Regions from separate parts of the Homo sapiens genome. Here regions 1 and 3 are each linked to region 2. Evidence: promoter capture Hi-C in 16 types of primary human blood cells and fetal thymus (Javierre and others, 2016). All regions are on one chromosome and are shown on one strand. Each heading gives the region's core, a stretch centred on a gene start or on the middle of the fragment in contact. The rest is flanking DNA. Distances are from core to core; before and after follow the strand shown. Region 1 holds the start of HEPACAM (hepatic and glial cell adhesion molecule). Region 2 holds the start of HYLS1 (HYLS1 centriolar and ciliogenesis associated). Region 3 holds the start of PKNOX2 (PBX/knotted 1 homeobox 2).

Evidence for each region. The method cuts DNA at HindIII sites, captures the fragments that hold promoters and counts their contacts. A CHiCAGO score of 5 or more calls a contact.
Region 1: the fragment with the promoter of HEPACAM here is called in contact with the fragment with the promoter of HYLS1 in region 2 in 4 of 17 cell types (naive CD8 T cells, activated CD4 T cells, non-activated CD4 T cells and 1 more); the score reaches 9.5 in naive CD8 T cells.
Region 3: the fragment with the promoter of PKNOX2 here is called in contact with the fragment with the promoter of HYLS1 in region 2 in 1 of 17 cell types (total B cells); the score reaches 5.0 in total B cells.

What each region holds. Positions count from the first base shown.
Region 1 is chr11:124,934,655-124,938,004 of GRCh38, forward strand. It overlaps HEPACAM (hepatic and glial cell adhesion molecule), which reads right to left and starts at 1,393. Exons shown (of 7, transcript NM_152722.5): 1 at 1,268-1,393. The coding sequence starts at 1,352. All of the region lies in intron 1 of LOC107984406 (a long non-coding RNA gene), which reads left to right. The HindIII fragment of the contact is 6,598 bases long and covers 829-3,350 here.
Region 2 is chr11:125,886,155-125,889,212 of GRCh38, forward strand. HYLS1 (HYLS1 centriolar and ciliogenesis associated) reads left to right here and starts at 1,514. Exons shown (of 3, transcript NM_001134793.2): 1 at 1,514-1,611. RefSeq lists an enhancer at 1,222-1,271 and silencers at 1,412-1,461, 1,552-1,601, 1,702-2,091. The HindIII fragment of the contact is 13,277 bases long and covers 1-3,058 here.
Region 3 is chr11:125,163,421-125,166,357 of GRCh38, forward strand. It overlaps PKNOX2 (PBX/knotted 1 homeobox 2), which reads left to right and starts at 1,331. Exons shown (of 13, transcript NM_001382323.2): 1 at 1,331-1,356. PKNOX2-DT (PKNOX2 divergent transcript) reads right to left here and starts at 1,189. Exons shown (of 3, transcript NR_125759.1): 1 at 921-1,189. RefSeq lists a silencer at 1,044-1,193. The HindIII fragment of the contact is 6,114 bases long and covers 1-2,937 here.

The DNA of each region.
Region 1 (3,350 bases), core at 143-2,642, 950 kb before region 2:
CTCCCACTTCTGGCTTCCACGACTTTGAGATAATGCATTTCTGTTGTTTAAGCCACTCAGTTTGTGGTATTTTGTTATAGGAGCCCTAGAAAATGAATACAAACTTCCTTTCTTATTTTATTTGCCTCCAGTTTCCCCTCGAATGACCCCCTGCAGACTGAGTAAGCTATCTGAAAGGTACATGTAACCCTGACAGTCCCCAAATTAAAAACCGCTCATTCCCTCACCTCTCAATCCCCAGATTACGAGTCTGGTTTACAAAGCTCTTGCCTCACTCAATTCATGCTTTTCTCTCCAGCAGTGATGAACTGCTGGGCTCTGACTAAACACTTGATGTTATTTCAAGCTGTTGACCTTTGCTCATTTCCCAACCCTAACACCCACTTATACTCCTACCTTTTTTCCCCATCTTTTAAAATTCAGTGCACACATTCCTTCTACCAGAAAACCTCCCCCTGATATTCCCACACCCTGTGTCCTACCCTACCAACACCCCCTCCACCAGCACCAGCTTCCTGGATGGGGTAGGTGACCTTTCTCTGATTGCTATGCATTCTCTGCATAATTGACTTATGATAGTTCCTGCAGTTTAGTAAAATGATCTCCACATCTGTTTGCCTCACTAAGTTGTGAATTCCTAGGTGCTCTGTAATTGTGTGTGTGTGTGTGTGTGTATATGTGTATGTACTCATAAATAGGTATATTTAAATAAGATCACTTCTCAAAGGATTGGTAGGGGGCGGTAGAGGAGGTAAGCAGCTATGGAGTGGAGTGAATTATGGATAGGTGGGTATGACTATCCCACATTAGGAGGCTCATTATCTCCAAAGCTTCTTTCATCTGCCTTACTCTTTTACACACAGAGAAGCCAGAGTCGGGGGCTGGGGAGGTATAAAAAGAAAATTTCCCCTACCCCTACCCATCAAGCCCCACCACAATCCCTTGGAAAGAATGCCAGACTGGCCCACGCCAACAAGTCATCCCATACGAAATGGCCCAGTGCCCGCCATCTAATGTACTGAATGCCGTGGGAGCTCCAAAGTCATGCAGCCTTTTGGGGGAAGGGGGTAGGGGCCGCGCGGGAGGCACACAAAATAAAGAAATACGTTCAACGCTAATGCCTGAATTCCCTGACATGTTTCCCACGGCAGCTGAACTCTCCCCCACTCCTGCCCCAAAGGCATTCAGGCCCTCCACTCTCCCCTCCGTCTGCTGTAAAAGCCCCGGGTCCTTTCTTCAGACCCTTTCTTACCCTCTGGCCTCCTACCTGTCTGGATCAGAAGAAGGTAGACAAAAGGAGCAAGGCGCAGGGCCCTGGAGGCTCTGGACAGGGCTCCCCTTTCTCTCTTCATTTTGGGTGGCGTTCTCCAGCTCTAGTGCAGACAATTAGCATGATTTCTCCACTCTGGGCACGTCCCCTTTGTACCACTCGGAGTTTCTCTGCCCGAACACAACCCTGCCAACTTCCCTCTGAATACACAGAGCTCTGTGTATTGCTGGACTTGTTCTTTCCTCTCCCTCAGACCTGGCATTTTCTAGTTTCCAAGCCCTACATCCCCAGTTTGGAAGCAGGTATCTGCTTAGGAGATAATCTCCAACTCAGGTTCCAACATGGGGGGCACCGGCAGCCCAGCAGTTGGTTGCTTGTCTGTGCTGAGCCTCACTACCCAGGGAGATGAGGATCTGGGCTCAGAGCACTGAGCTGGGACACACACTTAACTGGACTTTGTGTCCCAACCTACCCTGTCTCCACCTAACACTCCTTCTCCCTGAGGAGGAGGGTACATGCCAGGACAGACCTCCAATAAGCTCTGAAAAGGGAGGGAGAAGAGATTTTAAAAAGCTGGGAAGTGAAAGACTCCAGACAACTGCTGAAGAAATGGAAAACCCCTGTTCCATCCCAAAGGAAGAAGACTGGAAAACAGCTTGAATTCTATTATTGTTACACTTGTCTTTCCGTGGCTTGGAATTTTCTCTTCTATCATAGAATCACATAGATGCTGGACACCTCTTTCCAGAAGCCACTCTGTTCATTCCCCTGCTTTCAGGCAATTTTCTAGAACATGTCTGAGCAAAATGAAGGTCATCTCCTAACAGCCAGCATCCTAGGGTTCTGTTACCAGCTTAACAGCCTAGCTGTGCCCTCCTGTTTTGAGGCTGTGAAGAGGAGAAACACTCTAGCTCTACTCTGACCCCCATTCATGTGTTCACACCTTTTCATGAGGGCGGCCAAGGGAATGGATGCCTAGTAACTGTGATCTTGGGATGGGCTCGCAACCTCTTTGAGCCTTCAATTTCTCATCTGTAAAATGGGGAAAAGAAGAGCTTCCTTGAGGGGAATTGTTGGGAGCGTTGATGGAGATTTGGTACAGAAGAGTACCTAGCAAATCCTTTGTTACAGAGATGATGTTTTAAACTTTTTAAAAATTGCCTTGTTTCTTTTTTCATTCATGCTGGGATCTTTATATTTTTGGGAGACCAAACTTCACAACTTCCTTCTTGGTCATCCCTAACCCCTGGTCTTGGTTTTGTAAGTGCAGCAATTATCTCTCTAAATATTCTTTTTACATACTGGAGAAAGCCTGAGTAGGTCAACTTTCTAGAACTGAAGCATTATTACATAGCCCTTCTGAGCCTCGGCAGAGGGAGAAGAGTTGGGAAGCACTGAACTTCACAGACCTCTCTGAAAACATTCTGAAATATATAAAGGGGATTCTTTTTTCCTTTTGCATTTCTGTGTTTATGACTTTTCCCTAGACAACTCAAGGCACCTTTCTTCCACTGGAAGAGGTAATGTTATTATAGCAGGTACACAAAAAGAGTCAATATTCAGCTTCTGACATTTAAAATAGCATTTCAAAGTCCATAGCAAGATGAAAGGCTTAGCCAGTCTTTGTAAGGGACAAAAGAGCATTCTAATTTCTTTTATCTACCCCTTGACATATCATAGATCAGCCTGTGGACTGGATCACAGAGTCCTTCTGGAGTGTAGATAAATGGCCTCTTTGCCTGTGATGGCTGGGCCTTGAGGCTTATGGATGGGAGTAAAAGGAGGATGCAGTGTTTGGGAAATAGAAAGCCCGAAGTCTGCCCTTGTTATCCTGAAGCACTGTGGAAAGAAAAATGTGCTAGAGGGAGACTAAAAGGATCTAAGTTCTCAATATCCCCACTTCCCCGCCCCAGAGGTGGCTCTTTATACCTGCACAGAATTTGCAAGGGCTTCTAGGTGTCCAGAAGCCCTTTAGGAGACTCAGAAGTGCCGAGAGGGTAAAGAACTGGCAGGAAACAGAAGATTGAGCAAAGGCACTGCCATGTACGGGGATTCTGAGGCCAGAGGCAACAGCTGGGAC
Region 2 (3,058 bases), core at 264-2,763:
ACCGCTGCACTAAAGGAGTGTTATGATATTGCAGATGTAGGGGCAGTCACTCAAATCTCCACAACCTACTTCTGTCATCTTCCCTCCTTTGTTCTTTCCATTTTCTTCCTCCCACAAATTCAAAGTGCCTTAGAGGTAGCACAAAGGCCCTGAGGCAAAGAGGGAGAGTAAGAGATAATACGAAGTGTTTGGAGGAAAAGGATTAAACATTTCTCCCCTCCCACTGAATCCTGGATTTAAGAAATGGTGTAAGATGAACTTGACAACTAGCACCTATTTGTTTAAGGTGGAAAATGCAATGCTCAGGACTCAAGACCAGTTGAGATAGGTTTGCTTGGTATTGACTAGGATATTGAACCCTGAGGGCCTCTCCTCTTGCTTTTACAGATCTCATCCTCAGCAATCCCCAAGCACTAGATTTTTTTTTTTTTTTTTTTTTTTTTTTTTACAGGTACAGATGCAAAAAGAGTTAAAACATCGGGTTTAAAAAAAAAATTAGTGGCTGGGCACAGAGGCTCACAACTGTAATCCCAGAGCTTTGGGAGGCCGAGGGGGTAGAATCACCTGACTAACATGGTGAAACCCCATCTCTACTAAAAATACAAAATTAGCCGGGCATGGTGGTGCTCGCCCGTAATCCCAGCTGCTCGGGAGGCTGAGGCAGGAGAATCGCTTGAACCTGGGAGGCAGAGGTTACAGAGAGCTGAGATCGCGCCACTACTCTCCAGCCTGGGCAACTGGGCAACAAGAGGGAAACTCCGTCTCAAAAAAAAAAAAAAAAAAAAGTTGAGAGTAACACCATGTGAAGGAGACAGGCACATTCCAAAAGAAAACAAGTGCATGTCGGAGCAAGGCAGTCGGTGGCTGGAGCACAGTTAGAGTAACGTGGGAGGAGCTGTGGAGACGCAGCCACGGGTCACGCCAGGGCCCTGCACACCATGCAGAGGAAAGGAAGAGCTCAGTGCGCCAGGGTTTCATACAGCCGCTCTCTCAGGCCCCAAGGAAACGTCTAGAGCGCACAGGCGGACTCACCCCAGACTGTTCGAACCGTCCCTGAGCGCCCGCCCTCGTCTCCCGGCACCACTGGCCCCGCAGCAGCCAGTTGAGAAGGGCGGAGGCTGATTCCAATGAAGTGGCAGACCGTTAGGCGGCCTCTCCAAAAAGCCAGCTATGTCGCCGTTAGCCAAGGTTTGAGGGTCTTCTCCTTCTCTTCGAGGGCCCAACCTCCCCTCCAGATTTAGTACACCAGAGGCGTCGCAGCAACGGCTGCTGCCTGCGCGCCTCAGCTAGGCGGGCTCGGATATTTTTAAGGCCACATTGGAAATCCCGGGCATGCTCCCGCCGGCGGAGAAGGCCCAGACAAAATGTGCGCCAATCAGGATACAGACTTGGAGGACGTTTACCCTCAGGACCAATAAGAGGGAGGGCGGACCGGGCCAAGGGTGCCGGTTCGCTCTCCGGATTTAAACCTCAGCGGTCGGCGGTTAACCGCAGGCTCGGCGCGTGGGCCGGCAGTGCGCCTGCGCAAGTTACGCGAAAGCTAACAGAATCTGCGGTGCTCTGCTGGCGACTGGCAGGACGCGGTGCAGAGAGCGGACTTCCGCGACGCGGGTAAGCCGGGCGAAGGCCGGAAGCGGAGGGACGCGGGGACCTGGTGGCTGCCGGCCCACTGCGGCGGGAGCCCTCGCTCCTTTTCCCACCGTCGGGACGGTGCAGAGTGGCAGCTTCCCTCCGTGGATTCCAGGTCCTGCCTGGCGAGCCGTCCCCAACGTCTGCGTTCCTGAGGGAGGCGGCCGGGGCAGCGTGAGCTACAGGCGATGTGCGCGGCGGGCCGCAGCCCCTGGAGGTCACGGTGTGCGCTGGCCGCCGCCGCGGTCTTTGCCCCGGTGGCCTTTCTGAGCTCCTGGGCCGCGCCCCTGGGACCAGGCGGAGGCCGGGGACGGCCCCAGGGCTGGAGGGGAGTCCCGAAGGCCGCTAGCGACCTGGGTCCAAGCCACGCCCACGGCCAGGCGGGGCGACTGCGAGCTTTGCCGTTGAAAGGCGGAGCGTGTCTTGTCGCCTTCTAGCTGCACCTTTTGTGGACTGCAGCATGGAACCGTCCAAGGTGTTTGTCCACCCCGAAATGGAAATAAATCTTTTTTATTCTAAACAGTATACAATCTCACTAAGCAGGCAAAGAAAAACATTAAGATATCTTTTTAGATTGGTAAGATTTTTCAGTACCCCATGCTGCTGAGAGAGTGAAGAAATGAAAGCAAGCACCTTTATGGCCTGTGTGCTGGGGATAATCTGTTTTTCTAGAGGGCAGTTTGGCATTATAAATCAGAATTCAGGCCGGGCGCGGTGGCTCACGCCTGTTACCCCAGCACTTTGGGAGGCCGAGGTGGGCGGATCACGTGAGGTCAGGAGTTCGAGACCAGCCCGACCAATACGGTGAAACCCCGTCTCTACTAAAAATACAAAAATTGGCCGGGCTTGGTGGCGGGCGCCTGTAGTCCCAGCTCCTCGGGAGGCCGAGACAGGAGAATCTCTTGAACCCGGGAGGGAGAGGTTGCAGTGAGCCGAGATCGCGCCACTGCACTCCAGCCTGGGCGACCGAGCAAGACTCTTGTCTCAAAAAAAAAAAAAAAAAAGAGAAAAGAAAAACATAAATCAGAATTCAAGTAGTACCATAACTTCTAAGTCATAATCCAATTCCAGGAGTTTATTCCAAGGACATAAATCGGACAAGAATGCAAACATAGTATGTACATGTTTTTAGCAATCCGAGCAACATTTAGTACGTGTAAAGAAGAAAGAAAATACTCGAAATTTCATCAGTCACAGATAACCATCAAACACTGTTCACATTTAGGTTTACTTCAGATATATTCATAATATATACCTTATATTTATGTGATTTCCTTATAAAATGTGTTTTAAATAATTGCATGTTACAAATATAATAAAGTATGTTAATTTAAAAGAACGTCAGTTAAGCAGATTATACATTATTGAGTCAGTAATAAATTGGGAACACATTTCTCTGTCAGTGTCGATACGCATTACCATTTTTAAT
Region 3 (2,937 bases), core at 81-2,580, 720 kb before region 2:
GCCCATGACGGAGGCGGGTGAGTGGCGACCCAGAGGCCTGAGAAGAGCTCAGGGGCAGCCTTCAACTTCTTGGGTCAGATTCTTTACTGAAAACCCAGAGGCTGGGTTTCACTTTCTGCTTTCCCGCTTTTGTCGGTGTCTTTGTCTGGGCTTCTTCCAGGCCCCCTGCCTGGCCTGGGGTCAGAGGATCAATGGCTGCCTGACTGGCTGAAAGGGCTCCTCTATGGGGAGCAAGAAGCAAACTTCCAGAGGCAGAAGGGGTTCTCTTGTCCCTTTATGCGGAGGGCCATGTGCTAAGTTGAGGAAGCAAGCAAGTGTGCTCCTGTGTGTGGCTCTTAGTAGGACTGTGATCTCTGCTGAGTGAATGGAGGCGCTTGTGGGTCTACACATGCCTGCTTTTGTCTTCCACTGTAGAGGGCATGTAAGGAGCCCATTTCCTCCCTGATGTAGATGAAGCCACCCCAGCAGGCCCAGGCTGAAACAGCCCAGCTGGTCTTTCCCTTTATATGACTGCACCCCAGCCCCCAGAACTCTGGGAACTCACTGAGTTTCTTGAGGACTTTTTATTAGAATGAAAATAGCAGTGGCTTAGAACAGGCTTGCCTGACATTTGCAAAGAAGTGCTTTACTGACAAAGCCTATCCACTCTTTCCTCTCTCCCTCTGCCCCACCTTGAACCAGACACCCCGGGAAGCCCACAGCAGAAAAAGCTCTTGAGACCAGGAATAACTAACCAGAGTGTCATCTGAACACCTTTTCTGGGGCCAGGGTAATGAGAATTATTCAAATGCAATCATAAAAATGAGGCCAGCCAGGCAGGAAAAGGGGGAGGGGGAGTGCTGGTGGAAGGAAGGATTTCTTGCCCGTTTTAAGTTTCATCATTTCTGGGGAGTTCTCTTGGGGTCCACAGAAAATCTCACCTCATCTCGGTCCCCTCAGCACCGGTGATATCTTGGAACTCGGCCCCGGTTGTTCGCTAAGGAGGACTTGGCTTGGGGGCGGGAGGGTGCTCCAGAGTTCCTGGGGGTCCACCGCACTCCCCATCCGAGGCTCCTCGCGAGCGGAGCCGCTTCTCCAGGCCGCCCGCCTCCCTGCCGCAGGAGCAGGCCCGCGCCCGCCGCCCGAGAGCCTCCGGTAGAGGGAGACACTCCAGCGGCTCCTCCGACTTGGCAGCGGCCGGGCCGGGAGTGGGTGGGGGTGATGGGGGGTGGGGAGAAAAGGGGGAGTGGGGAGAGGGGAGGTGTGTGAAGGGGGGGTCCGGGGGGCGGGTCCCTGTGCCGCTGACGTCCCGAGCAGTGCTGGGAAGTATAGGCTGTGTTGTCACGCCGGTGTCAGTCTGATGAAGATTGGCATCAGGTAAGCTGTCATTCATTTCCATGTCAGAGACGCTTTTGCAGGCGGCGGCGGCGGCGCGGCGGCGGCTGCTGCTGCGGGCGGCTGCCTCAGAGCGCGTGTGTTTTATTCCAGTCCCCAAGCCAGAGTATTATTCATTGCGACAGGGCAAGGAGGAGAGAGGGAGAGAGGGAGGCAGCAGGGAGGAGAGAGAGGGAGGCAGCAGGGAGGAGGGAGGCAGGGAGCAGCGAGGGACGGCGGGAGCGTGCAGAGAGAAGCTGGGGAAGCGCCGGGAGAGCGCGGAGCGGAGCAGCGCGAGGGGCGGCGAGGCCGGGCACGGAGGCTGCGAGAGCCCCGCGGGCCGCCCGCTCCCCTGCCCGGCCAGCGCTCAGCCCCGCCGCCGCCGCCGCCGCCGCCTCGCCGCGCTTGGGCCCGTGGCCGGCCGCGCATTGTCCTCGGGTGCAAGGAGCCGGGCTGCGGACTCGAATCGCCGCGGGCCCAACCCCGTAGCGGGCGGGCGGGGAGCTGTGCGCCAGGAGCGCCAGGGGACCCGAGAATAGGAACAGGCACGCCGGCCCGAGCCCGGGTGCAGAAGGCTCCCGGCCGGGCGCTCCGCGGGGAGAGGCTGGGAACCGCGGGCAGGCTCCAGGTTCTCTTTCTCCCGGCTTCGGGCGTCCTTGGGGCCGGCGCTTACTCCGCGCCACCAGCCTGGAGATGCTTTCCAGCGGCTGGAGGCGGGAGCGGTCCCAGGCTGGGGCCAGGTGACCGGAGGAGTCGAGGAGCCGCGGCCGCGGCCTGGGGAGGCAGGGCGAATGAGGGTTTGCAGACGGATCAGTGGAGACAGGGGAACACCGGCGGGGCCCGGGAAGCCAGGATCCGAGGGGCTACACGCACGGACCCTCACCCAGGGAGGAGCGAGAATGTGTAGGGTCACCGGCTTTCCATGATTGCTGGGGATCTTTGGTGAGGCGGGCGTAGGGGCCCGCGCGAGGCTTGGGAATCGGGAGCCCTTCTGGCTCGAGAACTAGGGGATGAGTTCGTAAAAGAGGGAACTGAAAGCGATCGAGAGCGGAGAGCTGAGGGGGATGGCGCAGGATCCCGAATCTGCCGCTCAAAGTTTGCATTTCTTTCGGGTTAGGAGACGGGCTTTCCTGGCTCCCGATCCCCAGGAAGAAACGAGCGAAATGGGCCGTCCTTTCCCGGGGCTCTTCACGGGGGAGCCGGGGGTTTCCGCGCGGTGGGGAGACTCGGGTTGGGAATTGAGGGGTAGGGGCTTGTGGATCGGCCTGAATTAGGGCTGGGTTTTAGGACCAGTCTAGAGTTCGGTTTATAGGATCCAGACTGTTTACGGAATCGGGATCGAGGGGCCGATAAGTAGTTTACACGCCGGCCAGAGCAGAGGGCTGGAGGTCGGAGTTGGGGGCTGGAGGAACGGGTGGCGTTTTTAGGATTCAGTAACAGGATCACAGCTTTTTCTTGTGGTGGAAGCTATTGGAATTTGGGGAGGGTAGCACGAGGGGTCCTGCAGCTCCGCGTGTGAAAAAGCGTTTAGGTAGGCGATGAAAGTAGTTGATCTGAGCCATGGCAGGCGAGCCCCGAATTTTT